Linked DNA regions of Homo sapiens: region 1 is linked to region 2. Evidence: promoter capture Hi-C in 16 types of primary human blood cells and fetal thymus (Javierre and others, 2016). All regions are on one chromosome and are shown on one strand. The core of a region is centred on a gene start or on the middle of the fragment in contact, and the rest is flanking DNA. Distances in the headings are between cores, read along the strand shown.

Evidence for each region. Contacts are between HindIII fragments. The CHiCAGO score rates a contact against its expected background, and 5 or more counts as called.
Region 1: a fragment that was not itself captured here is called in contact with the fragment with the promoter of FAM98C in region 2 in 9 of 17 cell types (activated CD4 T cells, monocytes, naive CD4 T cells and 6 more); the score reaches 8.7 in activated CD4 T cells.

What each region holds. Positions count from the first base shown.
Region 1 is chr19:38,918,693-38,921,588 of GRCh38, reverse strand. It overlaps SARS2 (seryl-tRNA synthetase 2, mitochondrial), which reads left to right. Exons shown (of 16, transcript NM_017827.4): 4 at 1-62; 5 at 143-197; 6 at 1,440-1,503; 7 at 1,722-1,827; 8 at 2,776-2,823. Among named protein-coding and RNA genes, the nearest start is that of CCER2, 8.0 kb to the right of the region's middle. RefSeq lists an enhancer at 2,580-2,896. The HindIII fragment of the contact is 441 bases long and covers 1,377-1,817 here.
Region 2 is chr19:38,401,773-38,404,778 of GRCh38, reverse strand. It overlaps FAM98C (family with sequence similarity 98 member C), which reads right to left and starts at 1,686. Exons shown (of 8, transcript NM_174905.4): 1 at 1,561-1,686; 2 at 1,293-1,441; 3 at 1,085-1,219. The coding sequence starts at 1,625. RefSeq lists silencers at 1,180-1,379, 1,570-1,899. The HindIII fragment of the contact is 11,725 bases long and covers 1-2,738 here.

The DNA.
Region 1 (2,896 bases), core at 348-2,847, 520 kb before region 2:
AGCTTGAGGAGCAGTTCTACCTGCAGGCGCTGAAGCTGCCCAACCAGACCCACCCAGACGTGGTGAGCACCGTGCTGGGTGGCAGGGAGGCCAGGGGCCCACCTAGTGCCACCTTTCCGTGACTCCTGCTGTCTCCCTGCAGCCCGTCGGGGATGAGAGCCAGGCTCGAGTGCTCCACATGGTCGGAGACAAGCCAGGTGGGCCACACCCCAGGCCTGGGAGCTGACAAGCCCTGCGGTGTGGGGGTTCTGGGGTCTCGGGGTGGGGGCCCCTGGGGTCTGGGAACATGTCTGGAGCCTGGAGAACTCCTGGCGGTACAGGAGGTGGCTCCAGCTTCCTGCCTTGGCCGAGCTCGAGCTGTCTCTGAGAGGCGGTCCTTGGGTTTTCATTCTCTCCCCCTTCACCATTGGGCAGTCTCACCCTGTGTTGTGTGATTGTATCGTATGTGTGTGAGTGTGTGTCGTGTATGTATGTGTTGTGTGACTGTGTGTCATGTGTGTCTGTATCTGTGTGTCTGTATCTGTATGTGTGTGTCTGTATCTGTGTATCTGTGTGTGTCTGTATCTGTGTATCTGTGTGTGTCTGTATCTGTGTGTGTGTGTCTGTGTTTGTGTGTGTCTGTATCTGTGTCTGTGTCTGTGTGTGTGTGTCTATGTGTGTGTCTATCTCTGTGTGTGTATATCTGTGTTTGTGTGTGTGTGTGTCTGTGTGTGTCTATGTATCTGTGTGTATGTATCTGTGTGTCTTTCTCTGTGTCTGTGTGTATGTGTCTGTCTCTGTGTGTCTGTGTGTGTATCTGCATATCTCCGTGTATCTCTGTGTGTATGTCTGTATCTGTGTCTGTGTATCTGTGTCTTTGTGTGTATCTGTGTGTGCGTGTCTGTCTTTGTGTGTCTGTATCCGTGTATCTGTGTGTCTGTCTCTGCGTGTCTGTGTATGTGTCTGTCTCTGTGTGTCTGTATATGTGTGTGTGTCTTCGTACCTCTGTGTGTATCTCTGTGTGTGTATGTATGTGTGTGAGTGTGTGTGTGTCTCTGTCTCTCTCTCTGACCCCCCTGCTTTGGTCCCTGTCTCCGGGGCTTTTTCTCCCCAACTCTGTGCCTCCTCTCTGATTCTCCTCCTCCCTTCCTCGTGGTGTTTCCTTCTCCTCTGGCCTCTCTCCTCTGTTTCTAACTCTGCCTTCCCCACCCCGCGCCCTCTTATTTCCCTCTCTGCCTCCTCTCATTTCCTCTCCCTGTCTCTGTTTTTATCTCCCTCCCTTCCTGTCTGTCTTTTCTTCCCTTTCCCTCCCTTTCCGTGTCTTCTTCTCCCTTCTCTCCTCCTGCCCCTCCTTTATTTTCTCTCACCGTCCCTCCTCTCTGCTGTCTCTGGAAGCTTCTATCTGGGCCCCATCCCTCTCTCCCCGCTGCCTTACACCGGTGCTTTTCACCCACATCCAGTTTTCTCCTTCCAACCTCGGGGCCACCTGGAAATTGGCGAGAAACTCGACATCATCCGTCAGAAGTGAGCCCCTCCCCTGGCTCCCCACGCCCCTCTCCCAGCTGCCTGCACCCCGACAGCTGGCTCCTGCCTCATTGGCCTCAGCGTGAGATGTGGAAATGCCATGAATCTTTGATGCCCCAGCCCCACCCAGCAGCCGGGCCTCTTCCCCCGGGTGTTTTCATCCCCACATTCCCTGCCAGCCTGGCCCATGTGCACCCGCCTGTCTGTCTGTCTCCCAGGCGCCTGTCCCACGTGTCTGGCCACCGGTCCTATTACCTGCGCGGGGCTGGAGCCCTCCTGCAGCACGGCCTGGTCAACTTCACATTCAACAAGCTTCTCCGCCGGGTATGGGCCAAGATAGGAGGGCTGCCTGGAGGGGGTGGCATCGAAGCTGAGCTCAGAGGGCCCAACGGGGATGGGAGTGATCTCTGCTCTGCCCTAGTCACTGCTCTCAGAGCTTCATGTGTATCATTGACACATTTAGTCCTTACGACAACTTTATGAAGTGGGTGCTGTCATCATCCCCACTTTACAGAGAGGGCTTGAGGCCCAGAGAGGGGAGGTACCTATAGCCCAAGGTCTCACAGCCAGTCTGGAGCTGGGCCTAGAGCCTGTGCTTGTAATCATTGCACCTCACTGCCTGCTTGCGGTATAAAGGGAGCATTTGGGAATCATAGCATCCATTGAAACATGGCAGGGACTGGTTGCATGGAGCATTGGTCACGGTGAGGAACTCAGACATTTTCAGAGGGTACTAGGGAGCCATGGGAGGCTTTTAAGCAGGGGAGGGTGTGGCCAAATCTGTACTTTTTTGTTTTTTGAGACGGAGTCTCGCTCTGTCACCCAGGCTGGAGTACAGTGGTGCAATCTTGGCTCACTGCAACCTCCACCTCCCGGGTTTAAGTAATTCTCCTGCCTCAGCCTCCTGAGTAGCTGGGATTACAGGCACATGCCACCATGCTGGCTAATTTTTTTTTTTTTCTTTTTGACAGAGTTCGCTCTGTCACCCAGACTGGAGTGCAGTAGCACGATCTCCATGCCGGCTAATTTTTGCCTTTTTAGTGGAGAGGGGGTTTTGCCATGTTGGCCAGGCTGGTCTCAAACTCCTGGCCTCAAGTGATCCGCCCACCTCAGCCTCCCAAAGTGCTGGGATTACATGGGTGAGCCACTGCGCCAGCCCCTGCCTCAGTTTCGTCTGAGGAGGAAGGGGCTCTGCAGCACCCCTTCTTCAGGGCTGAGCTTGGGGTCTGGTAGGGGTCCCAGCTCTGCTCACTCATCCTCTCCCCTGAACAGGGCTTCACCCCCATGACGGTGCCAGACCTTCTCCGCGGAGCAGTGTTTGTGAGTGAGGCCTCTCCGCTTCCCTCGCCCACCTGGGTGTCAGGCCCTGCCGTGGGTGCCCGAGGCAGGGAAA
Region 2 (3,006 bases), core at 437-2,936:
GGCGGGCGGATCACGAGGTCAGGAGATGGAGACCAGCCTGGCCAACATGGTGAAACTGTGTCTCTACTAAAAATACAAAAATTAGCAGGACATAGTGGTGAGTGCTTGTAATCCCAGCTACTCGGGAGGCTGAAGCAGGAAAATCGCTTGAACCAGGAAGTTGGAGGTTGCAGTGAGCTGAGATCATGTCACTGTACTCCAGCCTGGCAACAGGGCGAGACTCCATTTCAAAAAAAAAAGAGGCTCCACCGGCTTTAAAACCTCCACCTTTGCCCAGGCACAGTGGCTCATGCCTGTAGCCTGTAATCCCAACACCTTGGGAGGCTGAGGTGGGAGGATCGCTTGAAGCCAGGAGTTGAAGACCAGACAGGGCAACATAGGGAGACCCCACCTCCACTTAAAAACAAAACAAAACAAAATCCTCCACCTTCTAGTCCCCCCCACCTAAAGCCTTCCAGAGTAAGCCCCACCTTGAGACCCTGTCCCCTCCTACGAATTCCACTCCTGCCCACTTTGAAACCTCAAGCCTTCCTCCTAATCCAACCCACTTGAGCTCCTAGGCCCTCCAATTAAAATTCTAACCCCGGGCCGGGCGTGGTGGGCTCACGCCTGTAATCCCAACACTTTGGGAGGCCGAGGTGGACAGATCACCTGGGGTCAGGAGTTCGAGACCTGCCTGGCTAACATGGTGAAACCCCGTTTCTACTAAAAATAGCCGAGTGTGGTGTCGCGCGCCTGTAATCCCAGCTACTCGGGAGGCTGAGGCAAGAGAATCACTTGAACCTGGGAGGTGGAGGTTGCAGTGAGCCGAGATCACGCCACTGCACTCCAGCTTGGGTAACAAGAGTGAAACTCCATCTCAAAAATAATAATAATAAAATAAATAAAAAATAAAACGAAATTCTACCCCCGCCCATTTTAGAGCGCTCTGCTTGCCCCAACATGCTCACCCCACCCACCTCGTACCCTCTGGGCCGCCCCAAAGTTCTGACCACACCCCTTGGGAACCTCGATTTCCCCTAAAAAGTCAGAGCCCGCCGCTCCGGAGGCCATGGCCTTGCCACTTCTGCATCCCGGGACTCACGCAGCAGGCGCAGTCCGGCACCGGGTTCCCGAAGCGCAGCCGCGCCATCCCCGCCGCAGAGCGCGCGATCCGGGCAGTGCAGCTCCCGCAGCAGGCTGCCGAGCTGCCGCAGAAAGTCCTCCTCCGCGCCAGGGCCTGCGAGGACAGGGGTGTCAGGGCTCGGTGGCCCCGTGGCGGCCCCCCTGCCACCCTCCCGCTCCGTGTTTACCGTCGCCGGCGCTCAGCACCTCCGCGCCCGCCTCTCGCTGCTGCTCGAGGGCGCCCAGCGTCGCCAGCTCCGCCGCCAGCCGCACGCACAGCCCCCTGAAGTCTGGGCATGAGGCGCCCCGCGACGCCGCCCCCGGGACACCTCCATACCTGTGGGGACCGAGGCAGCGGGAGGGGGCGGGGATGTCACTGGGAATCCCTTTTCGTCCGCGTCCAGGGGGCAGACCTGGCCTTCCTGCACCCACCAGCCTCACCGCACACCCTTTTACCCCAGAGCCAGCAGGTCCTGGGCCACCGCGGCCCCCTCCCACGCTTCCGCCTTCACCGCCTCCATGAAAGTGTGGTCTCGGCGCGCCCCCTGGCGGCCGGTGGCAGGCTCCGCCCCAAAAGCGCCGCGCGCACGAGCTCCCCGCAGCGTCCGGCGGCACTGACCAATCGGCATCTTCCCGCGCAGGGGCTTGGGTGCTCCCATTGGCGCAGGAGGACGCCGAACCCGCCCCGGGGCCCGCCCGCCCCGCCCCTCGGCTAACCTGTCGGGGTTGTAGGAACGCCCCCTGGAGCTGTAAATTGCAGTGCGTTCGGGATCTCCGCTGTCAAGACAAGCTGGCGGCGGGTGTCACTGTTGCGGCGACATAAAAACAACTTCGGTGCCATTTTCCTTTTCCTCCCTCAGTTGTCTTCTGCTGGTGTTTTGTTGGTTTGTTTTTGAGGCAGATTTCGCTCTATCGTTCAGGCTGGACTGCAGTGGCGCCATCGCGGCTCACTGCAGTCTCGACCTTCTGGGCTCAAGAGATCCTCCCGCCTCAGCCTCCCAGCTAAATTTTTAAAAATCAGTCAGCCTTGGTGGCTTACACCTAGTAGCTGGGACCACAGGCGCAGACCACCGCGCCTGGCTGATTTGTTTTTAATTTTTTTGTAGAGACAAGGTTTCCTCATGTTGCCCAGCCTGGTTTCCAACTGCTGGGTTCAAGCGATCCGCCTGCCTCGGCCTCCCAAAGTGCTGGAATTACAGGCGTGAGCCACTGCAACCGGCCAATTTTTTTTTTTTTTTAAAGTTTTGTAGAGGCCGGGCACGGTGGCTCACGCATGTAATCCCAGCACTTTGGGAGGCTGAGGTGGGTGGATCACTTGAGGTCAGGAGTTCGAGACCAGCCTGGGCACATGGTGAAACCTCATCTCTAATAAAAATACAAAAATTAGCCGGGCGTGGTGGCACACGCCTGTAGTCACCACTATTTGGGAGGCTGAGGCAGGAGAATTGCTTGAGCCCGGGAGACACAGACTGCAGTGAGCCAAGATCGCGCCACTGCACTCCAGCCTGGGGACAGAGCAAGACTCCGTGTCAAAAAAGAAATAAAGTTTTGTAGAGAGGGGTCTAGCTATGTCGCCCAGGTTTGCCTCTAACTCCAGTGTTCAAGCAATCCTTCCCTCTCAGCCTTCCAAAGCTTGGGATTACAGGCTTGAGCCAGTGTTCCTGGCCCTGTCCTCTGCTCTTAAAGCAGCCCAGACGGAGTGGTGTTCACCCAACTCTGCCTAAAATCCAAAACTTCCTCCCTCCTTTCCACCTCAGGGTTTGAATTACATAAGGGACCCAGGAATCCCAGCACACCCCTCACACACCAGGCCCTCCTCATCGATCACGATGTGCCTGTTAGGCCTTCACTCCTCTCCCTCTTAGGCCTTGGAGTGAGCAGGTGCAATGCACCATAGTGGTT